Linked DNA regions of Homo sapiens: regions 1, 3, 4, 5 and 6 are each linked to region 2. The links are contacts of gene promoters, found by promoter capture Hi-C in blood cells and fetal thymus (Javierre and others, 2016). All regions are on one chromosome and are shown on one strand. Each heading gives the region's core, a stretch centred on a gene start or on the middle of the fragment in contact. The rest is flanking DNA. Distances are from core to core; before and after follow the strand shown. Region 1 overlaps PAPSS1 (3'-phosphoadenosine 5'-phosphosulfate synthase 1). Region 2 holds the start of HADH (hydroxyacyl-CoA dehydrogenase). Region 3 has its middle 160 kb from the start of RPL34-DT. Region 4 has its middle 140 kb from the start of RPL34-DT. Region 5 has its middle 180 kb from the start of LEF1. Region 6 has its middle 120 kb from the start of RPL34-DT.

Evidence for each region. The method cuts DNA at HindIII sites, captures the fragments that hold promoters and counts their contacts. A CHiCAGO score of 5 or more calls a contact.
Region 1: a contact is called between a fragment that was not itself captured here and the fragment with the promoter of HADH in region 2, in 1 of 17 cell types (monocytes). The highest score is 5.0, in monocytes.
Region 3: a fragment that was not itself captured here is called in contact with the fragment with the promoter of HADH in region 2 in 1 of 17 cell types (non-activated CD4 T cells); the score reaches 5.4 in non-activated CD4 T cells.
Region 4: a fragment that was not itself captured here is called in contact with the fragment with the promoter of HADH in region 2 in 2 of 17 cell types (activated CD4 T cells and non-activated CD4 T cells); the score reaches 6.7 in activated CD4 T cells.
Region 5: a contact is called between a fragment that was not itself captured here and the fragment with the promoter of HADH in region 2, in 3 of 17 cell types (fetal thymus, activated CD4 T cells and non-activated CD4 T cells). The highest score is 6.3, in fetal thymus.
Region 6: a fragment that was not itself captured here is called in contact with the fragment with the promoter of HADH in region 2 in 1 of 17 cell types (non-activated CD4 T cells); the score reaches 6.1 in non-activated CD4 T cells.

What each region holds. Positions count from the first base shown.
Region 1 is chr4:107,684,705-107,688,748 of GRCh38, forward strand. PAPSS1 (3'-phosphoadenosine 5'-phosphosulfate synthase 1) reads right to left here. Exons shown (of 12, transcript NM_005443.5): 4 at 2,335-2,473. Among named protein-coding and RNA genes, the nearest start is that of PAPSS1, 34 kb to the right of the region's middle. The HindIII fragment of the contact is 4,878 bases long and covers 1-4,044 here.
Region 2 is chr4:107,987,701-107,991,964 of GRCh38, forward strand. HADH (hydroxyacyl-CoA dehydrogenase) reads left to right here and starts at 2,189. Exons shown (of 8, transcript NM_005327.7): 1 at 2,189-2,364. The coding sequence starts at 2,233. RefSeq lists a silencer at 1,956-2,185. The HindIII fragment of the contact is 11,946 bases long and covers 1-4,264 here.
Region 3 is chr4:108,454,719-108,458,639 of GRCh38, forward strand. No RefSeq gene overlaps it. Among named protein-coding and RNA genes, the nearest start is that of RPL34-DT, 160 kb to the right of the region's middle. The HindIII fragment of the contact is 617 bases long and covers 959-1,575 here.
Region 4 is chr4:108,478,489-108,482,609 of GRCh38, forward strand. No RefSeq gene overlaps it. Among named protein-coding and RNA genes, the nearest start is that of RPL34-DT, 140 kb to the right of the region's middle. The HindIII fragment of the contact is 4,341 bases long and covers 1-3,482 here.
Region 5 is chr4:108,348,469-108,352,418 of GRCh38, forward strand. No RefSeq gene overlaps it. Among named protein-coding and RNA genes, the nearest start is that of LEF1, 180 kb to the left of the region's middle. The HindIII fragment of the contact is 6,562 bases long and covers 1-3,950 here.
Region 6 is chr4:108,495,106-108,499,117 of GRCh38, forward strand. No RefSeq gene overlaps it. Among named protein-coding and RNA genes, the nearest start is that of RPL34-DT, 120 kb to the right of the region's middle. The HindIII fragment of the contact is 1,085 bases long and covers 1,698-2,782 here.

The sequences.
Region 1 (4,044 bases), core at 371-2,870, 300 kb before region 2:
CTAGAAGCTCCCCGCACCACCTGGCTTTGAGTTGTCCCACCTTTCTGGACCAAACCAATGTATTTGATTGATGTCTCATGCCTCTCTAAAATGTATAAAACCAAGCTGTGCCTCAACGACCTTGGGCACATGTTCTCAGGACCTCCTGAGGGCTGTGTCACGGGCCATGGTCAATCGTATTTGGTTCAGAGTAAATCTCTTCAAAAATTTTTTTTTTTTTAGATGGAGTCTCGCTCTGTCGCCCAGGCTAGAGTGCAGTGGCACAATTTCGGCTCACTGCAAGCTCTGCCTCCTGTGTTCACGCCATTCTCCTGCCTCAGCCTCCTGAGTAGCTGGGACTACAGGCGCCCGCCACCATGCTGACTAATTTTTTGTATTTTTAGTAGAGACGGGGTTTCACCGTGTTAGCGAGGATGGTCTCGAATCTCTTCAAATATTTTACAAGAGTTCAACTCTTTTTGTCGCCAAAGCATTGGCAAATGTGTGTTCAACATTCCACTCCCACTCCACCTTCTCATCCATCCAACAAGCATTAACTATGTGTGTGACAGGTGTATGCTTTGGGCAATGTACTGTGCTAAATTCTAAACACACACAAGTGTTCACTATGATCTCCCTGCTCACAAGTAGCCTACTCCAGCCAGGATGACAAACCTTCCTCCCTCACCAATCCATTCTTTCAAAAACAACAAAATCAACTAAAATTAAAGTAAGTAAAAGGTTTAGACTTTATTTAGGATCCTGGACACACCATTTTGCTTTTCTGTGCCAAATTTCTACACAAAGACTGAAGTGAAAACTGGCCATTGAGAGAGTAATATGGGAGCTGAAGGGCTAAACAGGTTTTCCTCCAATTGTCATAATTATTCTGGTTAAGCAGCCTGATCTTTCTGAGTCAAGAAAGTAACAGCTTAATGAGGTAGAGGGTTGACAGGCAGCAGTCCCCATCAAGGAGCTGATTCTCCATAGTGGCATTACCGGAGGTCAGCCTTGCCCATGGAACTAATGCTACTACAGCAGATGGAACCTGACCTAATTGCCAAAGCATTCCCAGGTTCAAATACAGAAGAACCCAGAATAACTACCATTTTCCTTCCCACTGTATCTTTTTGTTTTCAGGGCCAGAAACTGAATGCCAAAATCTATCTCTGAGAGAGCTCCTGGGAGTTTCTGTGACAGTCTCAGGTTATCACATTCCCTGCTGGGAAGGCAAACTTAAAAGTTACCTGCATGACTCACTGATCCCTAAACAATGGTATCTTTAGTTAGTTTTTTTGTTTGTTTTGTTTCGTTTTGTTTTTGTTTTGTTTTTGCCAGCAAGTCCTTTGTTTCTGTTAACAATAATGGAACAGGACAAGTCAAGGGATGTCTACAAGATAAATAGTATGATTAATATCAAAGGCCAGAGCAGAGTTGGGTTCTAAATTTCTCCCTCAATGTCTAAATGTCCATCACAGTTGAAACTCTGGGAAGCGGACCATAAAACCTAAAAAGCAAGGTGTAGAGCTGTCCCTTGGTAATCATGCGGATTTGTTCCCGGACTCCCTGTGAACACCAAAATGTGAGGATGTGCAAGTCCCTTACATAAAATGGTGTACTATTTGCATATAACCTATGTTCATTCTTTTATATACTTTAAATCATCTCTAGATTACTTATAATACCTAGTACAATGTAAATGTTATATAAATAGATGTTATACTATATTTGTTATTTATACTATTTTTAAATTGCTGTATTATTTTATACTGTTTCTTCTGGAATATATGCAATTCACGGTTGGTTGAAACCACACATGTGGAATGCACAGATGTGGAGGGTCAGCTGTATATATTTTAACAGAATCAGTGATATGTTAATTCAATCTAATTCAACAATAGTACATGAAATGAATAAGGGACCATTCCAAGGATCGTAATAAAGTACAAGGCATTATCCTTATCATCAAGATGCTTATAATTCAGGCATTTTTTCCAATAGCTATGGGATTTCCTCCATTTTCCCTGGAACAAAGAAAGTAGAATTGGTGGCAGCAGGCAACTGATGTCCAACTTAATGTTAGGCACCTAATTTTATCAAGTAGGTTTTCGCCAACTCCCGAGCCCCAACTCTGGCTAGTGAACAGGATTCCAAAAGGATCAACAAGACTCATTTAGTCCAGCACCAGGCACTGCTGCTATGCCTGAGAGATAGAACAGTGTAATAAGACTACATTCTCTCCTCAAGGAGCTCCAAGTCACTCTAACACTTCCAATCTCTTAGAAAATATCAATCCTAGATATGGGAACATAAAATATCTAAGCAAAGTGAAACTGGGAAGAAAATATTACTGACCTTTAATTTCTCCTGCCCGGGCTTTTTTGTAGAGTCCTTTGACATCCCTCTGTTCACAAACATGCAGAGGAGCATCAACAAATACTTCAAAAAACGGTAAACTTGCACCTTCATGAATTTGCCTTGCATTGTTGCGATCCTTAAAAAAAAATAAAATAAAAAGTGATCACACAAATCACAAACGTACTATATTAATATTAAAGATGAGTAAAAAGTGCTTCTCATCCAATTTAGTGGGAAATAGACAAAATTTATGTTTTTAAATATAAACTGAAAAAAAAATCCAAGAAATTATTAGGTTAATTCCTATTATTCATGACAATTTTAAAAGGCATACTGTTCTACTAACCCAGGATATTGGGGAGGTACAGAAGGAAAACAATGAATGTACCACAAACTTTTTCACTCAAATTCTACGTGGATCCTGAGCCAAAGCCCAGCCTGAATGCTGGTGTCATCAGGCTTCTCTCTAATATCACATTCAAACCCAGCCTGAGCTGGCATGAAAGCAATTTCACAAAAAAGATCCATTCAGAATCCTGAGGCTAGTTTACTTCTTTGCCAAATGCAAGCCCCCTGCAGCCACTTCTCCTCTCTAACACTCCCCAAACTTAACTTTTCTGCTCCTAACTCCCAACTCTCTAGTAACCACCCTTGCAGCTCCCTCTAAGCCCTCTCCACTCTGTCCTTTGGAACAATGTTTCCTTTGTAAATCAACCTTTTCTTCTTTCTGGTCTTCAAAACCTGATTCTCCCTTTGCTCCACATTTATACTCCATTAATCAAAGTGCAGTTGCCAATATTTTCAAAGCTGGTCCCTGCAATTTCTACCATCCTTTTTCCACACAGCTCATTTTAGCATTTGCCATCTTCCTTATGGTCCCTCTGACAATCCTCACCTACTTCCACTCTCACCAGATTACCATACTTCATGTTTCAAAAAAAAAAAAAAAACAAATCTCCAAGAATAAGCTCTCAATCTCTTCTCTTTCAAGCAAAATCTCTTCTCTGTCATACAAATTTATCTACATACTAATGATCCTTTTCTCCCTGCCACTCCTACCTTCACATACTAGGAATTCCCTCCCCTTTCATGAACTCCTACAGGACCTGTTCAACCCATTCTCTCTACTCCACCTGAAATCTTCAGCATTCCCCCTTTGCTGGGTTCCCTGCTCCCCAGCAACAAACAAGTACAAGTCCATTTAAAACAAATGAACTGCTAAGGGAAGTTCACCCATTTAAAACAAAACAACTGCTAAGGGCAGTGGTGTAGCACGCTTATAGTCCCAGCTACTTGGGGAGGCTGAGGCAGGAGAATCACTTGAGCCCAGGGGTTCCAGGCTGTAACACACTACAATTGTGCCTGTGAATAGTCACTACACTCCAGGCTGAGTGACAGAGTGAGATCTTGTCTCTAAAAAAATTTTCAGCATAATGAACTAACAAATCATATAAAAACTTTCCCTTAACCATAGGTCCTTTTCAGTATTTAAAATACCAGGCCTCTTTGCTGCTTTCCCACTGCTATGCCTATGGATGCCTATAATGTTATTCCCTGATCTTTCCTAGGCAGACTCCTCCTGGGCTCCTCCTATTTCACCCATCCCTTAACACTGGAGTTGCCCACACTCCCATCACAGCCCACTGCTCACCTTACACAGTTCTTGAGCGTTTCTCTCAAGTGCCTTCACAGTATAAACTACAACAC
Region 2 (4,264 bases), core at 939-3,438:
ATACCTCTTTAAATCAGGCCATAAGGCTGAATCAGGTCATTCAGTGAACTATGGTCCTTGTAAAAAGTAAAGTAGAGGTTCCTTTTCAAAGACTTTCCTCCTCATCTGATTAGGAATAAATAGTAACCTCTCTTAGAAGCAAAATTTATTCAAAGACCTGTTAACATTCTTAAATATCTGCTAGCTGTAATAAAGAAATCAATGTACTTTATGTTCTTAGCTCCCACAATTTAGCCTAAATATTTGCCCTGGCATGCTTATACTGGTCCAAGTGGGCATTAGGTCATAGCCTGTTCCTCTTCCTTATTTAGAGGTGTTTTTCCCTTCTCAGCATTCCACAAGTTACTTCCTCCTTCCTTTGTTCTCCTCTGCCTTTGCCTCTTTTAAGAATTTCTAAGTTGCTAGCCAATCAAGACAAATACAGAATGTGAAGTCCCGTTCTAGCCAATGGAAACCAGTCACAACAGTAAGGTGGACGGGTCAGGTTATAAATGACCCTGCCTCCTTTGTTCGGTGTACTCTTGTGGCAAAACTGCTGGCGAGTGTACTCTTTCCGCAGAAAGTAAAAATGGCCTTGCTAAAGAAATTAATTTTATGTTCAAGTGCTATTTCTTTACGGCACCAAGAAATAAGCATTTCTAGCAGTCCTTAACCGCCATAATGCCCTAAATTAGACCATGACCAATTGGACTCAAATACTTTGAACTATCTTTATTGCCTGAACTTTGAATTGTTTAATTTTGATCAGTTCAGTTTGTGGAGACTCCTGTTAAGGTGTGTACCTCAGTTTATTGCTATACTCCTTCTCGTGGCCATAATAGTCTCCCTGATGTGTTGTTGTCCCCTCGAGAGTCTTCAATGTCTCTATGCAGCCATCCTTTGTACACCAAATGGTGTTATTACAGTTAGAATAACAACATGAAGAAAGTATAATCACTCAACTAATTTGACATTGTGACTTCCATACTGAGACAAAACAAGGTTCTGGTCAATCTCGTAAAACTGAGAGGCTGACCCAAAGGAGGAAACTGTTATTAAATTAAATCTGGCCTAAAGTTGCCTCCCTACCTAGCAAAGCATAATCAAACCTAATATGTAAATAAACTGCAATGTAATTTGAGAGTACGTTCTTCTAACAAGTGGCCAAGTCTTGGCCAATCACCGCAGCGGAGCTTTTAGCCCATTACAGGCTGCAAAAAATATTGTCTATAAACGCGGCTTGCCCACTGTTAGGGGCTGGAGCTCTCTGAACCTTTACTGGCTCAGGATACTACATGATTCATGCTTTCTTTGCTCAGATAAACTCTGCTAAACTTGTTTGAAGTTTTTTTGTTAACAATATTTAAACATAAAGCAAATAAATTAATAAGAATCCTATATCACTAAGTTACAGTAATTAGAAAGTATTCACCTGAGTGAGAAGATTGGCCAAGCTGCTATCCAGTCTTCCATTATTTGACAAGACATTTCTTTCCTATGCTTTCTAATAGTATTCGTTATTCCAGAAAGGTTGCTCTATGACCTTAAACCGTCCACATGTTCACTGCACTGATAGACGTCCAACGTCAAGATGGGTAACTAAAGGTCAACTCTCTCTTTACCTTCCCTGAGCCTGATTTTTGCATTGTAACTCATGGTCACTAGACATTTGTTTTGGGTGTTCGCAGTCTACATTTATTTCCCTTTTAGGGGAAACAATCACTGTCCACGGGATTAAAATAATCCCGAGTTGATTATTTGGTGACATCAACCAACGGTGCACATTTTGGGTCCATTACCAACACAGCCAAGCAGCACATATTTCTTCAGAGCCTAGATATGCACATGTCATCAAAGGATAGCATTTTACAGAGTCAACACCACTCACTTCATAGAACAAGGGGCCAGTGGCTTTTCAGAAGAAGGGTCTGTTCTCGGCCCCACACCAGAACGCCAGCCGCCAGGTCCCGCTGCTCAGCAGGTCTCAAGCCCGCGCTCACTCGGGCTCCGGCTGCTGACAGCTGCGAGCCCGCGCGTGTATACCCGCTCAACGCTGGGACGTTACAGCCAGGGCCAATGGGCAGAGCGGGACTCGAGGCCCCGCCCCCGCCTTGTGGCGTCACGGGGACGCCGGGGGCGCGCGGGCTGCAGGGCCGCGTAGGTCCCCGCCCCCAGAGTCTGGCTTTCCGCGGCTGCCCGCCTCGCGCGTCTTCCCTGCCCGGGTCTCCTCGCTGTCGCCGCCGCTGCCACACCATGGCCTTCGTCACCAGGCAGTTCATGCGTTCCGTGTCCTCCTCGTCCACCGCCTCGGCCTCGGCCAAGAAGATAATCGTCAAGCACGTGACGGTCATCGGCGGCGGGCTGATGGGCGCCGGCATTGCCCAGGTGAGCGGCCCTCCCTGCAGCGTGCCCACGCGCTTGGCCGCCCACCCTGAGGTGGAAGCTCTGGCGCGACCGGCCGCGAGGGGCCTGCACCCGCCCGACACCAGGGAGTTTTCACCCCGCGCCTCCCGGGTGTAGTTGAAATATCTCGCGTCTGGGCCTGTGAGGGCCCAAGTCTCACTCCCCTCAAAATTCAGGGTTCTGGGCCGATCCTCAGCTTCCTCGTTTGGAAAATTCTGGCTGCCCCCAGGGCCCGCTGAAGGTTCCATGGAGAGTGGCGGTGAATGCATTTTGGAAGCGGGCCGTGCAAGAGAAGAAAGAATTGTATGTGCACAAGGTTCAGGCATAACGCGTTTGTTCCTGCTCGGCTCAAACGGGAGTTTGCTGCCAAAGACATGAACTGCGATCAGTTTTAATTCTATCAGTTATTTTTGATTTTTATTCTGTAATTGTGCAGTCTTTGTCAAAGTAGTTTTCTCTCCTAAACGGCCTCCCGGCTCTCCCCGGTCTTTCCTTCGCTTGCTAGGTTGTAAAGAATAGTAGTAGTCATGACTTTTGTAGCACTTTGTAAAGTCACCTAATGGAAGATTGCTGAGGTCCTGGTTTTGACCTTTGAAATAGTGCCGTCTGTGCAGAGTTCTGAGCTTGCGATTTTGGCGCTGCAGCGGAATAAGTCTCTCTCTTTTTTTTTTTTTTTTTTTTTTTGAGTCGGAGTCTCTTTGACCCAGGCTGGAGTGGAGTGCAATGGCGCGATCTCGGTTCACTGCAACCTCCGCCTCCCGGGTTCAAGCGATTCTCCTGCCTCAGCCTCCCGAGTAGCTGGGATTACAGGCGCCCCGCCCGGCTAATTTTATATTTTTAGTAGAGACAGGGTTTCACCTTGTGGGTCAGGCTGATCTCGAACTCCTGACCAAAGGTGATCCGCCCGCCTGGCCTCCCGAAGTGCTGGGATTACAGGCGTTAGCCACTGCACCCAGCCGGAACAAGTCTTTTATCCATTGTACATCTTCAGGGCTTTTCCATTGTTCTGCTGAGCTGTGGTTCAGGCTCAGTTGTGCGAGTGATTGATTACCTGGCTACTGTAATGCTTGTACTTTTTTTTTTTAAAAATTATTCCATTTCAGCTCACATTGGAGAACCATGGTTTTCGTATCCTAGCTGATTATATTCTTAGCATTTCAGTCCTTTGCAACTTGGTTTGTTGGGGAAGGCGGTTATAGTCATCTAATTTTTCTTGGGGACAGTACTACTGTGGCTACAGTCATGAGAGAGTTTACTTTTTCAATGTCTTGTTTCCAACCAAGTCCACGCTTTCATGCTTGCTTTTTAAAAACAAAAACAAAAAAACCTTTTACTATTAGGTATTATATATCTCAATTTTCTTCTCCTTGGCAAGTTTTTTACAACGTTTTTATTTGATTGCATTTTCTTCTAAAAGCTATATCCCTGTAATGTTTTATTTATATGACTTCTTACAGTCTCCCATTTCCTCTGAGACCATAATTTTGGACATACATTGCCCTTTTTATTGTGTGGATCCCCTGGCTGCTAGGTTATAGTATCCCCATAATCTATGTTGTATGTGGACTGGGAGGAGTAACTCCCTTTAACCTAAAAGTTCCACAGGTTATACTCAAGAGAAAGTTTAGTTTGAGTACGTTTGTATTCCCAGGCTCCACCCAAATCTCCCAAGGCTGTGAGAGTGAGATTTGTTGTGAGCAGGAATAGAACAATGTGTTTTTTAGAAACATTTTAACAACATCTTAGTAACAAAATATTAGGGCCTTAAGCAGCCTCCAGGAACATTATGGGAAATGGATCCAGAAACTTGTGGCTGGTGTCCTTGAAGACAGCAGTGGAAAAAGATTAGAAACTAAGTAGAAAGCGTCACTTCAACTTTTGT
Region 3 (3,921 bases), core at 17-2,516, 470 kb after region 2:
TAACAGAGGGAAATGGAAAACAAATGAGGACTCTTTAGGAAGCTATGATCTACTTAGTGAGCTACAGATGTGTAAGGAACAAACCCTTCATTCATATTTTTGGTGGGCTCTTCATATTCCTCTTCCTTGCTATTATATGGGCATGCACTGGCTTCTCAACAGCTGTTCAAAACTCTCTATTCTCTTCAAGGTTTGGGATTCAAGACCCAGATTACCCACACCTGCTTACATGAGACAATCTCCTACCTCACTGAAGAAATCGAGGTCATCCGGTGAGAATTCCTCCAACTTTCCTCCAACATAATCATCCTTGTCAAACCTCATTCTTACTGAGGTTGCTCTGTTGTGAAAGGGACAATCCTTTCGCAAGGTGAAACCCCTGTGTCCTTAATCACATTCCCTTGCCCTCTCCTCCAACACCATAAATCATCCCCTTACAGTCTTAGTCCTCTCCCTCTCCACTGGTTCTTTTCCATTTGTCCTCAAATAGGATCAAATATATTGCATCCCTCAAATAAACAAGCAAGCAAAATAAAATCTTTTTCATAACCACATTACCTTATTTCTGAATATGCTCTTCTCCCTCTCTTTGCCCCTACAGTCAGCCTGCCCTCATTGCCAAGCAGATTCTGTCCTCACCATTCTGCTAAGAATCTTCTGGTGGTTTCCCTCCTCCATGACATTCTTCTGGGCTTCGTCTGATAAGACTCTCTACAGGGTTGAATATTGTTTCCTCTTCCTACCCTTACTTGAAACTTTCATGTCCCAGCCTTGCAGGTTCCTATTCTTGTTCAGGATTATTTTCCCCTAGGTCTCTTCTACTGGCTCTGCTTCCTTTGCCCATCCCCAGTCCTCTTCTCTGTATACTCTTTCTAGATGGTCCCACCCTCTTCACTGGCTTTAACCATCATCCTGATACCAGTGACTTCAAGTCCTATTGCTGAAACTTAACTCCCTAAGCTTTACCAGTTGCTCATTGGACAATTTCGCCTGGTATTCCATAGGCCAGCATTCCAAAATATAAGTTATAAGGAGAGATGGGATATTTGCAAGGTGTCAAAATATCACCCCACAAACAACTTGATAATTGCAAAGAGGAAAATGTATCTTCAAAATGAAAATATGTGATGGCCACTACCTTAACCAAGTGATCAAATATACTATCACTAATTGTGGACAATCTGCCATTTGATACCTGCTGAGGGGATAAATAGAAAGTATGTGGCAATACCTGTAAGTTATTCTTGCCAATGATGTTTAACCTGAATGTAATCAAGTCTTTTAGACCTAACTTGCTGTTTGTATAAAACACAAGGGAGAGAGTAAAAAGCTAAAGGATACCACAAAGCAACAATCAGGCAAATCCAGATTGTGTGATCTCTATAGGTTGATTGGCCTGGTCTCTTCAAAAAGACAATAAGAGTCAATATCATTTTTAAAAATGGAGACTGTTCTGAGATAAAAGAACTAAAAGAGATAACAGTCAAATGCAATGCATAAAGCGTGATTGAATCTTGCTTTGAAACAACCAGCTATAAAAGATATTTTGGGTATAATGTAGAAAATTTGAAGACAAGCTTTAAATTAGCTAATATTAGAGAAATAATGTAAATTTTCTTAAATGTTTTATGGTATTGTGCTTTTGGAGGAGGATTTCCTTATTATTGGGAGATGCATGCTGAAGCATTTAGGGATGAACTTTTGTGTTACCTGCAACTTACTTTCAAACGTTCTGCAAAAATAAACATCTGCATGTGTGTATAACTCAAATACAGCAAAGCATCAATAATTTTTTAATTTAGGGGGTAAGTGTGGGAATGTTGAATGTACTTTCCTTCAACATTCTGGCATGTTTTAAAATTTTCATAACAAAAAAGTAGAAAATATGAAGGGAAAATGAAGTAGGCAAAAAACAAAAAAAGTAGAGAAAGAGTAGCCAAAAACTATAAATATAAATTTAATACTTTTCTTCTGCCTCCCCCTTCCCTATTTTTTCTATTCATAATTTACCAAGTAGATGAAGCTAAAAATCTTAGCATCATCTCTAACTTCTCTTTTCCTCTTCAGATCTCCTACTTCCTTCCCTCCTATCATCTGGTCTTTATCTCTCCATATCTTGAGTCTCTGTACCACCCTCCACCATTGCTGCCACACTGCCCTCATGGGTCCTCCATCATGAATCACCTGGACTTCCACCCCCCGGGCTTAATCTCCTCCACCATCAGTCCATTTTCCCTATTCACTCCCCTGATGAAACCTTTATGCAAACTTCCACTGCCTGGGAAATAAAATCAAATTCCCTGAAATAAAACTATTAAAGGATAACATTGGAATGGAATCTAAAAGTAAGGACAAGAGGGAAGTCAAATTGACATCTAGCAACACCCTCAGGCTTTTGACTGCAAAGCTAGAATTTTGATTCCTAGGCTGCCTCACTCCAGGCTTCATTTTGTGCAGAGACAGCAAAGAAGATAGGCCTAGGAAAAAGGATGGTGTCTTCTTAAGGAAACTTGAACTGTCTACCTGAAAAAAGAACCAGGTATGGATCAACCAAGTAGTGTTCTGGATTTTTAAGGTCTATAAAAGAGAGACAGTACCTTTTAACTACCAAGGCCATGACTTCAGATGCTCAATGAAAGACTCATTTTACTGACTTCAGTAAGTGGTTTATAACACTCTTTCAGTGAAGGTGAGGGAAGCAAACACTCTCATACATTGTTAGTATGAGTGTAAATTGGTACAGTCACCATGGGGGGCAATTTTCTTTTATACTCTTAGATCCAGGTGAGGTCACTTTGGAAAATTTGTCCACCAGATATACTTGCTGCTATGCTTTTAATGAATCCCCTCCAAAACTTAGGTGTTGCCAATGTGGTTGTATTAAGAGATGAGGCCTTTAAGACGCGACCAGGCCATGAAGGTGCCACCCCTATGAATGGAATTAGGTGCCATTATAAAGGTGTTTGGCAGAGGGAGTTGTTTCTCTCTTGCCCTCTGCCTTCTACCATTTGAGGCATGGAAATAAGGTCCTCACCAGATGCTGGTGCCTTGACCTTGTACTTACCAGCCTTGAGAACTGTGAGAAATAAATTCCTGTTCTTTTTTAATTACCTAGTCTTGGGTGTTCTGTTACAGCAGCACAAAATGAACTGAGACATTTGCACATATGCAAAATGATGTATGGTATATATAATTCTGAATTCTGCTATGTCATTCATTAAGACATTTTTTCTCAATTGGAAAAATATTGAAGTAAGCAAAACCTCCACCAATAGCGGACTAGTTAAATAAATTATGGTACTTCAGCCTAAAGGAATATTATCGGTTAATGTAAAGAATTGTGAAGAACTCTATGCACACATCTCTGTAAGACGTATTGCGACATGAAAAATGCAAGGTGCAGCACCATGTGTATAGTGCTCTAAACTTTATGGTAAAATGTGAGAAAATAGAGAATAGGTGCTTGAGAATAAAAAAGTCAAAAATAATGCAGCAATATTAAGTGTGAAAATTATCCACCACCTCTAAGGTTAGAAAAACACAGGGAAGATGTTGGTGTTATCATAACCTAGAAACTTGAAGGGATAAGCACATGGAGCTGGGACTCATACCTCTGAGAAGGAGAACCACCGGGCTGGTGCTGACATCTCTGATGGGAGTGGTGGGAGACTATCTTAGTCTGTTTTGTGTTGCTATAACAGAATACCACAGACTGGGTACATTTATAAAGAAAATATATTTATTTCTTATAGTTATGAAGGCTGGGAAGTCCAAGGTTTAGGATCTCACATCTGGCAAAGGCCATCTTGCTATGTCGTCCCATGGCAGGAGGTGAAAGGGCAAGAGAGCACATTTGCCAGAGAGGAAGGGGGCCAAAGTCATCCTTTATCAGGAACTCATTCCCACAATAACTAATCCATC
Region 4 (4,121 bases), core at 62-2,561, 490 kb after region 2:
CCAATGCCAAGAACTGGGCTCAATGAGGATGGCCTCAGAATAGTGCTCAGGAAAAGCGACACATTTGAGTAAGGGAATTGGTCAATCTTCCCATTACAAATATCTTTATGACAACTGGAAATTTTCGTTAAACTTATTTTAAAACCTTCTTACTTATTTCTAAAAAAAAAAAAAAAAAAAAAAAGATACAGAACAGGTGTAGGTAAACTACTGCCAGCAGGCCAGTTTTGGCCCTGAGTCTGTTTTTGAAAGGAAAGTTCATTGGGATGCAGCTATGCTCATTCATTTATGTATTGTCTGTGGCTGTTTTTGCACTATAACAGCAGAACTGAGTAACTGCAAGAAAGACCCTACGACCAACAAAACTAAAAATATTACTATCTGTCTCTTTACATAAAAAGTTTCCCAGCAGCTGATATAGCCCAACTGTTTCAAGCACTAACGTTATAGAAGAAAAGCAGGATAGCTGAATGGAAAGGGCTCTGGATTGGGAAAAAGAGCAGAAGTGATTTAGTCTCTGGAATCAGATCTACTCCCATCAACTAACTCATTATCCAAATGCAAACTTGGCTTTAACGTCCCCATGTTTCAGTCTCTTAATTTCCAATAATGGCATTAGAAATAAAATTCTTTTGACATCTGAAGACTATAATTCTAGAATGGTCTCAATGAGTTAAAAAGTAGAAATCAATGTGAAATTCATTACATACTATTACATTTCATTGTAAAGGGTGTATCTCCTTACCTTCAAATAACAGAATTGTTTTTAAGGCTTATTGTGTTAGAAAGAAAAGCTAAGAACTTAGAATCTCAAATCTGAGCACTGATGAGAAATAAAATTGCACTTAACATTTTTCAGGGCTTCTATTTTAACTCTTCACACACATCAGTAATTTGACTCTTTGCCATGGAGAGACAATTGCATGTATTTGCATTTTTTCTGTATGTGAGAATTTAATTTTTTACAACCCGCTGTGTTTTTCAGGCCCTTTAACTAATAGGCTTTTATCACCTTATGATTACCTAATTTTCTCCTAATTGCTTTATGACAATACAATTTATTTTGATCACTCCCACCCTGCGGTTTTACTTTGTAATGAAGGACTTTATGAATTTATGTGTATTATTATGCATCAGCCTAATTTTTCAATCTCTCTTCTTCCTCATAAATGGAAGAATAAAATTGGAGTAAGCCAAAAGAGCCATAGGGTGCCCATGCTTCCTATGTGGGAAAATATCTGCACATGGAGTTTCCATTCTCCCAATCAGCCTCAGAGTGTGCACACTTGCCACACAGGCCTTTTTGGTGATCTCCACGTGGCTTCGTGACGTATATACATATGCACACATTGTATATGAAGAGAGCAATCAGGCCAAGTTCATTTAAAGGTGCAGGGACCCCCTTGGTCTGTGATTTGTGCCTGATCTCCTCATACACTCTATTTATCAGATTTTGAATTTGGATGAAGTGGAAGAGTTCATTGTTTTGAGAACAACCTGAATAAGTTCAGAATTGATTTTCAAAACAGCCTTTTCTTCCTATTGTAAATTCTACAGTGAAGGTTTCTAACGAGCCGTTCTGTAAGTCGAAACGTACTCTAGGTGTACTCAGTTCAGTTCAGCATGAATGTGTCATGCGTCTCTATTATTGACTGATTTCATTTCTATTATTGACTGATTTCGTTCTCGCTGTTGAAGATGTATAAAAATTCACAGAAAGTGAAATATAATAATCTGGGGAACAGCATTGAACAGAATGCAGTCACACATCTCTATAATAGAAAACAGACAACAATCCACTGTTTTGTACACTGTTTTAATTATTTAGTAATAGCTACCATTTCTTGAGTGTCTACTTTGTGGCAGATACTTTATATGCCTGACATTTTATTCAGTCTTTAAGTGGATTTAATAATAGTAAGATCAGCTTTATTCCCATTTATGAATTGCGTTGACCAAAGTTCCACAGATGATATATGGCAGAGCTGGGGTTCATGACTAATACCCCAAAGCCCTGCTCTCACAAGTGTCTGCCTGGACTTTAAAGTACTTTCTCCTTCATCAGTTCATTTGATAGCTATAGCAACCCTGCGAAGGTGGCAGAGCAAAGCATCATGTTCTCCATTTTTCTAGATGAAGACTAGGGAAAAAATGATGTTTCAGTTCCCAATATTATAACAGATAGAGTCAGGCAAGCCAGGCTTCCTCACTCCTGATTCAGTGTTCTTTCAATAAATATAATTTTTATTAAAACCTACAATCAAAGTAGATAGTTTAGTGAAAAACTTATGGATAAGTCTGAGCACTTATACTTTCACAAGTCTTAGCTCAGCAACTAATGGATGATAGGAGGCCTTCTTCTTGTTCCTTGACTAGTTATTAGCTGTATGGCCTTACACAAGTGGCTTCACCTTTTTAGGCTTCCTCATCCTCATCTGTAGAATAATGTGATTGAACTAGATGGTCCCTGAGGTTTGCTCTAGACCTGGGGCCTGTGACTCTATGCCCCATAAAAAGTGTGGTAGTATCACCATGAGCCAGGTGGCCTGGAGACAAAAACTCTATTTGTTTAGATTGTATCATTATGCAGAGAAAACAAAAGGGATAGTTTTATTTAAATTTACAGACAGAATGGAGCTTGGAACCATTGAGTCCATACCTGCAATACCTGCAATTATTTAGTGAATTTGGGCCATGTGGACAAAGAGCAGGTAATTCAGGTCCAGCTGAAGTTTAATGCATAGATAAAATGAGATAGCAGGTGCCTTTTAGAAAACGAAACATGCTGCTTTAAGAGTCAAAAGATGATATTTAGGTTTTTGTTTTTTGTTTTGTTTTGTTTTTGTTTTCGTTTTCATTTTTTGAGACAGAGTCTCACTCTGTTGCCCAGGCTGGAGTGAAGTGGTGTGATCTTGGCTCACTGCAAGCTCCGCCTCCCGGGTTCAAGCGATTCTCCTACCTCAGCCTCCTGAGTAGCTGGGATTACAGGCGCCCATCACCACACCTAGCTAATTTTTGTATTTTTAGTAGAGACAGGGTTTCACCATGTTGGCCAGGATGGTCTGGATCTCCTGACCTCATGATCCACCCGCCTCGGCCTCCCAAAGTGCTGGGATTACAGACGTGAGCCACCGCACCTGGCCAAAAGATGATATTTAGTTTTAATTTGAATGAGCAGAATAGTTGTTTCAACTCCCTGCTTTGTCCTATTTGCAATGCCACAACATTACACCAAGAACTCCTACTCTGTTGATCATGTTAGAGTTTCGTACGTTTCTCACCAGCACTACAACAAAGCATACAAGAGGTACATAGATGAATATTATGGATTGCTTTCTCAGTTTAGCCACAATTACAATAACTGCTAATTTTTATTGGGCACTTATATTCTAGCTGTTCCACTTGACTTGCTTCATCTAATACCTGCAACAATTCTGAGAAGTCAGTACTGTTATCAACTTTTTAATTAATCAAGTCACTAAAGCTTTAAACTTGAAATTTGGGGTAATCTTCTCATGATCACACAGGTCAGCAAACTGTAAAACCAGAATTTGAACCCAGGAAGTGGGCCACCAAGCACGTGCCTGTAAGTGGAATACACGCTGTGTATCAGAGCCCTGAGGAAGAGCACGGGACAGGACGGGTGTGTGGTCCTGGACTCGGAGAGCTTGCTGAATGCCAGAGGGTTGGGGGAAAGACTGACTTGGGTCATTATAAGCAGGATGACTATGATGAAAGGGTAGTGTGGGAAGTTGTGTTTTAATTGGGGGAGAAAAAAGCAGTGAGGTGGAAAACGGAGAGAGATGTGAGGGAAAAAAACAAGAAAATACCCTGGTTGGCCCACAAGGTGGTGGGTGGGCGACTAATGGCTCTAGGATATAACTGCACCACCCTGAGGGCAGGCAGATCCCCTCAGAGCCCCTCCGGGGAGTCCCTGTGGAATCAATGAAATCCCTAATGATGACCCAGAGTGTGCAAGAAAAGTCTAAATTATATTTAATGAACAAAATAAAAAGAAGTGCCTGGCACATTTTAGGAAAATAATGGCAGTTGACATTTACTAAACCACCGCCAGGTGCCTGGTGTTGTTCTAAGCACTAGGCATGTGTTAACAGCCTTAT
Region 5 (3,950 bases), core at 1,387-3,886, 360 kb after region 2:
GAAAGGCAAGCCAACATGTGCAGGCATATCGCCAAGTTTCTATAACCTCTCTAGATTGTGGACATTGAGACAGAGAAAAGAAAGCCTGGGAAAGGAGGGATGGAGAGCTGAAAAGACCAGTTCTAAGCTGACTAGACTTTTCTCCCATGTCTGCATGGTCTGGTTTACCTTGTCACTCTATAGTCAAGTCAGTTAAAAGTTTAATACACAAATGGAAAGAAGTTGATGATATTCTAATTTCATTCAATTACCATAGGTGAGGATATTATCTATGCAAAATTGTAGCTCACATTAGGTTTATAAGATAGTGCACACATATAATCCATATCTTATTTAAATATCTTAGTCTATAATCACTAGAATCTTTATTTTTATTTTATTTTAGTTTTAGTTTTTCCAACTTTTATTTTAGGTTCAAGGGGTACATGCACAGGTTTGTTACATGGGTAAATTGTGTGTTGTGGGGGTTTAATGTACAGATAATTTTGTCACCCAGGTAATCAGCATAGTACCCCAATAGGTAGTTTTCAATCCTCACCTTCCTCCCAAATGCCACCCTCAGGTAGGCCCCAGTGTCTATTACTCCCTTCTTTGTGTCCCTATATACTCAATGTTTAGCTCTCACTTATAAGTGAGGACATTTGGTTTTCTGTGATAGTTCACTTAGGATAATGGTCTCCATGTCCATCCATGTTGTTTCAAAGGATATAATTTTGTTATTTGTTATGGCAGCATAGTATTCCATGATGTATATGTACCACATTTTCTTTATCCAGCCTACCACTGATGGGCATGGGAGGTTTAACTGGGCATGGTTTCCTGCCTTCAAAATCTTACCTTGACTAAGTGTTCCACCAGAAAAAGTGAGGAGTTCGGCAGAGGTAGGAAATAAAAAAGGCACCCCATAAAAGAGAGAAGACCATAGCATGAGGCAACATGTATGTTTGTAACATCTCAAGAAACATGCGGAAAACAACTTCACATTGATCTGAAATCATGTGCCATGTGTCATAATCTCTCTTTGTTTCTATAAAATTGCATCGTTAAGGAGTATATTTTGCTTGATTACTCTCTATCAAAGAATGTGGGTTCCATGAAAGGTTGGGTAGACGAATCTCTCTTACTTTTCCTCCCACACTTTCCCCTCAAATGTTGGATGAAAGGGAGAAAAGAGCTACCAGTCCCTGGTGGAGGCCTAAATTCTGGGAGTGTCCCAGCCCCAATCTACTCCCTCTGCCTGCCCTCTGGGAGGCTGAGGTGAGGGAGGTGGGTGTACCCACTAGCAAAACGTGATCCCAGGCCTGGGTCCGTTCCTCTGTTTTGCCTTTGCTTAAAACGTGCGGGAGGGCTCCTTTGAAGGCCAGAGAAAGGCAAGTCCATCATCTGGGAGGAGGAGACACACACATAGGATGTCACCATGCCATATCCTTAGTCCCTCGCTGGACTGGGTCAGATTTGGAGGTAAGGCTGTGAAAACATCCAGTCACCCAGTCACTGCCTGGCCTCCGCCAATGTGTCCTGACTCCAACCCAGTCTAGTAAGCCCCTTTTGGACTCTCACTGCTCTGTCACTCCTGTGTTCACTTCCTATATTTTCACACAGATGTGGCTTAGTGTTTTCTTTCTAAGGCATATTTTGCATGGAAGAATGCTTCCAGTGAGCTGAGGCCCTAATTGCCAAATAATGGTTGCCAAAACATGTTATTTTGGCTTCAAGCTGGTACAGAGCTGAGGCATTTTCCCCTCTTAAAAAAAAAAAAAAAAATCCATCCTCAGCAGCCCAAGGGCCATTTGCAAACACACAGGACTGAGCCCTCCATGGCTCTTCCTTCAGCTGGTGAGGGTGACTCCTTGTCACTTGAGGCAGCCTCAGTGGACCTCGTCCTTGCACGGGGGAAGCTCCACGGTGGGGCCGCCTCTGGGCTGTGGGCGCCAGGCTAAACGAAGGTGCTGAGACTTGCCTCCCACCAAGCCCCGCCAAGGGCTGCCTGCTCTGCCACGAGGGGTGTTCCTGCCGCCCCGCGCTGCAGTGGGAAGTGTCTGCCAGCTAACTGCAAACACAAGCCTACCAGCAAGCACGGGAATTCCAGATAGAGACAAATCTAGGGCCTCAGGGGAAGCTGGATGGAACTGATCAGTGTGAGAGATATCACCGCTAATTAAGTCCTGATCCCCTGGCTCCACTTGAAACAAACCAAGGAGGGATCAAGTTTTGCGAGCAGGTGCTAACTGGTTGCAAAAGAGGAGTCCATCACTTCAGCAAAAGGTTTCACTGTACCTTGGGGAGGACACAGCTTTTCTGAGGAAAGTCATTACTGGACAGAGCCATAGGCTCTTATTTTGTCTTAGGACACGGAGGAGCTTGTAAAAAACAAAAAAACACAAAAAACAATCCTCCGCTGTGACAAACAACTGTTTTCCTTTCCTGTGTTTTCCCCTTGATGGCTGATTTACTTTCTCCTCAGATGGACAATGGAGTAATTTACAGGTCAGTAAACACTTTCCTGGAGATGCCGGAGCAGTTTCATTTTGGTACAGATAATATGGGATTTGTTGTGACTCAGAATATCAGTCCAGAGTGGGACTGACACAGCCACCTACCCTGACTGTTTAAGAAAAAACAATTCTAAGTACAATGCATAAATAAACCTAACAGCAAATACTTACCTGCAGAAAGAAAATCTGAGAGCTCCATGAGTATTGTGTATGTGTGTGTGAAGAGGGAAAGTGATGTGTTAAGGAGCTGGACAAATATCCTGTCAAACATCCATGATTTTTTTTATTCTCGGAAATGTTGCCTTGATTCTAGAAATTATGACTTTGAATACCTACTAACATGTACTGGGCACTTCTATGTGCCCGGAGCTCTGCCAAGTGTTTTACATTCATTATCTCATTTGACCTTTATGAGGGCCATAGGAAGTAGATGTGACTTAGAGATGTTAAATAACACCTCTAGTAAGTGACCCGCCAAAGTTTGGAATGCCACCAGAGTGTGTATTTCTAAACGTGATGCTATCCTGCCTCCCAACTTTGGATTCTGCACAGAAATAGCAAAATACTTTGCACATTAAGTGCCCAAGAAATGCATTAAGTGAATGATTGAACAATGATTGAATGGTGATATTAAGGACTCACTGTTTTTGCAATATTGTAAGCATCTTTTCAAATTATTCCCATACGTTCGTACTAAAACAGTAACTTGGGAAATTGTTCTACTATACGTTAAGTCTGACAGTCTAGAGATCTCTGATTTTGGGGACAATATTTGTATTGAGTAAAAAAAATTATTCTGAGGGTCTTCCTTTGATCTGAGTGAAGAATGTTTTGAATCTTGACAGGGCTGGACCTACATTTGGCACATTTTGATAACCTGCAGGCAAGTTGGCTGAAGTTGCTGGCAGTGACTCCAGAAATCATTATCAACATAATTTCCTTTTTCTTATGACATGTAATCCTTCCCCTATCCTCACAACCCAATCTTTCGACCACTCTTGATAGTGGGAGGCTGCTGCTTTGAGTCATGTACCCAGCCACTGAGCACAGGCTTTCTCTGGAATGTGTCCTGTGTTGATTGCACTATTTATTAGTTTTATAGCAACAGAGCTGAGTGCTTCTTTGGTGTCTTTCTTGGGATTGTGTACATCATTCAGCCAGAAACAAAGAGTAGTTTGGATCCTTGCTGGCACCTGAACTGACTTGAAAGGGAATTTAGAGTTAAATCCTTATAACGCATAGATGTTTATGAGAAACATTGTTTTATACATGTTTATGGAAATAAAATTATTTCAAATGATGGTGCTTGAGGGTACTATGAGATGAGACAGGGCTGAGCTCAATAGTGAAGGCACAGAAATGGAAATGCTAAAGGGAGTTTTAATGGTTGGCTTTAGCTCTGATGGGGGCAACGAGGCCTTAACCTTGTTTTCTTTACCAGCTCTTCCACTGTCC
Region 6 (4,012 bases), core at 990-3,489, 510 kb after region 2:
TTATGTCCAAAACTGTGGAAAGAAACAAAGAAGGTAATTATATAATTATAAAGAGGTTAATTAAGCAAGAGGATATAAGAATTATATATGTACCCCAAATCTGAGCACCTAAATATATAAGGCAAATATTAATCAATCTGCAGGGAGAGATAGATTGCAATACAATGATAGTAGGAGACTTCAATACCCCACTTTCAGCAATGGATGTATCATCCAGACAAAATCAACAGGGACACATCAGACTTAAACCATACTCTAACCAAATAGACCTAACAGACATATTAGGACACAGAACATTCCACCCAGCAGCTATGGAATACACATTATTCCCAATTACACATGGACCACTCCCCCAGAATAAATCATATGTTAGGTCACAAAACAAATCCTAACAATTTAAGATTGAAATCGTGTCAAATGTCTTTTATTCTGACACAATGGTATAAAACTAGCAATCAGTAACAGAAGAAAATTTGGAAAATTCACAAATATATAAAAATTAAACAATGTGCTCCTGAATAACAAAGGATCAATTAAAAAATTTAAAGGGAAATTAAAAATTTTCTTGAGACAAATGAAAATGGAAACACATTATACCAAAACCTATGGGATACAGCAAAAGCAGTACAAGGAGGGAAGCTTATAGCAATAAACACCTACTTTTAAAAAAAAATACCAGACAACCTTACATTCCACCTTAAAGAAATAGAAAAATAAGAACACACTAAACTCAAAATTAGTAGAATAAAATAAATAATAAAGACCAGAGCAAAAATAAATGAAATAGAGCCTAGAAAATCAATAGAAAAGATCAACAAAATGAAGAGTCTGTTTTTTGAGAAGATAAACAGAATTGACAAATCTTTAGCTAGACTAAGAAAAAAGGAAAGAAAATTCAAGTAAATAAAATCAGAGATGAAAAAGGAAACACTAAAACTGATCACAAAATATAAAGCATCATAAGAGACTATTATAAACAATTATATGCCAACGAATTGAGTAACTTAGAAGAAATGAATACATTCTTGGACACATGCAACCTATCAAGATAGAGTTATGAAGAGATAGAAAATCTGAACAGATGAATAATAAGTAAGAAGATTGAATCTGTAATAAAAAGTCTGTCATCAAAGAAAAGCCCAGGACCTGATGGTTTCACTGTAGAATTATACCCAACAGTTAAAGAAGAAATAATACCAATTCTTCTCAAACTATTCCAGAAAATTAAAGAGGAGAGAATTCTTCCAAATTTATTCTATAAGGCCAGCATTATCTTAACACTAAAACCAGACAAAGATATAATAAAAAAAAGAAAACTAAAGGCCAATATCCTTGAGGGACATAGATGCAAAAATCCTCCACAAAATACTAGCAAACCAAATTCCACAGCACATTAAAAAGATCATTCACCATGATCAAGTTAGGAGTCATTCCAAGAATGCAAGGATCGTTCGACATATGCAAATGAATAAACATGATACATCACATTAGCAGAACAAAGAACAAAAGCCACTGAACATTCAATAGATGCACAAGAAGCATTTGGGAAAATTAATCATCTCTTTATGGTTTAAAAAAGGCTCTCAAAAATTAGGTATAGAAGGAATGTACCTTAACACCATAAATATATGATATCATATTATTATCATATATGGTAAACCCACAGGTAATATCATACTGAATGGGGAAAAGATGAAAGCTTTTCCTCTAACATCTGGAACAAGACAAGATGTCCACTTTTGACACTACTATTCAATATAGTACTGGAAGTCCTAGTCCAAGCAATTAGGCAAGTGATAATAAATAAATAAATAAAAGGCATCTAAATTGGAAAGGAGGAAGTCAAATTGCCTGTGTTTTCAGATGACACTATCTTACAGTTAGAAACCATAAAAACTCCACCAAAATAGCTATTGGAGCTAATAAATTCAGAAAAGTTGCAGGATACAAAATCAACATATAAAATCAGTGTGTTTCTATATACTGAGTAAACTATCAAAAATGAAACCAAGACAGCAATCCCATATGCAATACCTACAAACAATACTTAGGATTAAATTTAACCAAATAGGTTAAAGACCTTTACATTGAAAACTATAAAACACTAATGAAATAAATTGAAGAAAACAAAAATAAGTTGAAAGATATTTGTGTTCATGGATTGGAAGAATTAATATTGTTAAAATGTCTATACTACCCAAAGTAATCTACAGACCCAATGAAATCCCTATACCAATGATATTCTTCACAGAAATAGAAGAAAAATCTTAAAATTCATATGGACCCATACAAGACCCCAAATAGCCAAAAACAATCCTGAGCAAAAAAGAACAAAGTTGGTAGCATCACACTATCTGACTTCAAATTATACTACAGAGCTACAGTAACCCAAACAGCATGGTACTGGCATAAAAACAGACACACAGACCAATGGGACAAAATAGAGATCCTAGAAATAAATCCAAATATTTATACCAAACTGATTTTTGACAAAGGTGCCAAGAACACATAATGGGGAAGGGACAGTGTCTTCAATAAGCAGTGTTCAGGAAACTGAATATTCGCTTGTAGAATGAAATTAAATCCTTATTCCTCACCATATACAAAAATTAACTCAAAATGGATAAAAGACTTAAACATAAAACCCAAAACTATGAATATACTAGAAGAAAACGTAGAATAAAATCTCCATGACATTGGTTTGGGCAATTTTCTGGATATGACCTCAAAAGCACAGGCAACAAAAGTAAAAACAGAGAAATTGAATTGCATCAAACTAAAAAGCTTCTCCACAGCAAAGGAAACAACAGAGTAAGAAGACAATCTACAGAATGGGAGAAAATATTTGCAAATTACACATCTGATAAGGGGTCAATGGCCAAAATACGTGGGGAATTCAAACAACTCAGTAGTAAGAAAACAAACAGTTCAATTTAAAAATTAGCAAAAGACTTGAATAGATGTTTCTCAAAAGAAGATATGCAAATGGCCAACAGGTGTATTTTTAAAATGCTCAGCATCACTAATCATCAGGGAAATGCAAATCAAAACCAAAATAAGATACCACCTCATTCCTGTTAGAAGGGCTACTATCAAAAAGACAAAAGACAAGTGTTGGAGAGGATGTGAAGAAAAGGAAATCCTTGTACACTGTGAGTGAGAATGCACAACCATCATGGAAAATGGTATGGATGTTCCTCAAAAAACTGAAAATAGAGCTACCATATGATTCAGTAATCCCACTACCAATCATATATCCAATGGAAATGAAATCAGTATGTCAAATCAATATATCTGCACTCTCACATTTACTGCAACACCATTCACAACAGCCAAGATATATCTATCAACAGATGAAAGAATAAAGAAAGCGTGGTATATATACACAATGGAATACTATTCAACCATAAAAAGAAGGAAATCCTGTCATTTGCAACAACATGGATGGACCTGGAAGACATAACTAAGTGAAATAAGCCAGGCACAGAAATACAAATACTGCCTGTTCTCACCCATATGTGAAGTCTAAAAACTTGATCTCATAGAAGTAGAGAGTAGAATGATGGTTACCAGAGGCTGCGATGGTTAGAGGGAAGTGGGTTTGGGGAGATGTTGGTAAAAGAATAGATATTTACAGTAAGAAAGGGTGAATAGGGCCAGATGTGGTGGCTCATGCCTGTAACCCTAGCACTTTGGGAGGCTGAGGTAAGCAGATCGCTTGAACTCAGGAGTTCAAGATGAACCTGAGCAACATGGCAAAACCCGATCTCTACAAAAAAAAAAAAAAAAAACTAGCCAGACAGGGCACTTCATGCCTGTAGTCTTAGCTATTCAAGAGGCTGAGGTAGGAGGATCATTTGAGCACAGGAGGTTGAGGTTACAGTGAGCTGTGATTGAGCCACTGTACTCCAGTCTGGGGGACAAAGACAGACTCTGACTTCAAAAAAAAAAAAGAAGAGAAGAGAAGAGAAAGGGTAAATAAGCTCAAGAGATCTATCGTACAGCATGGTGA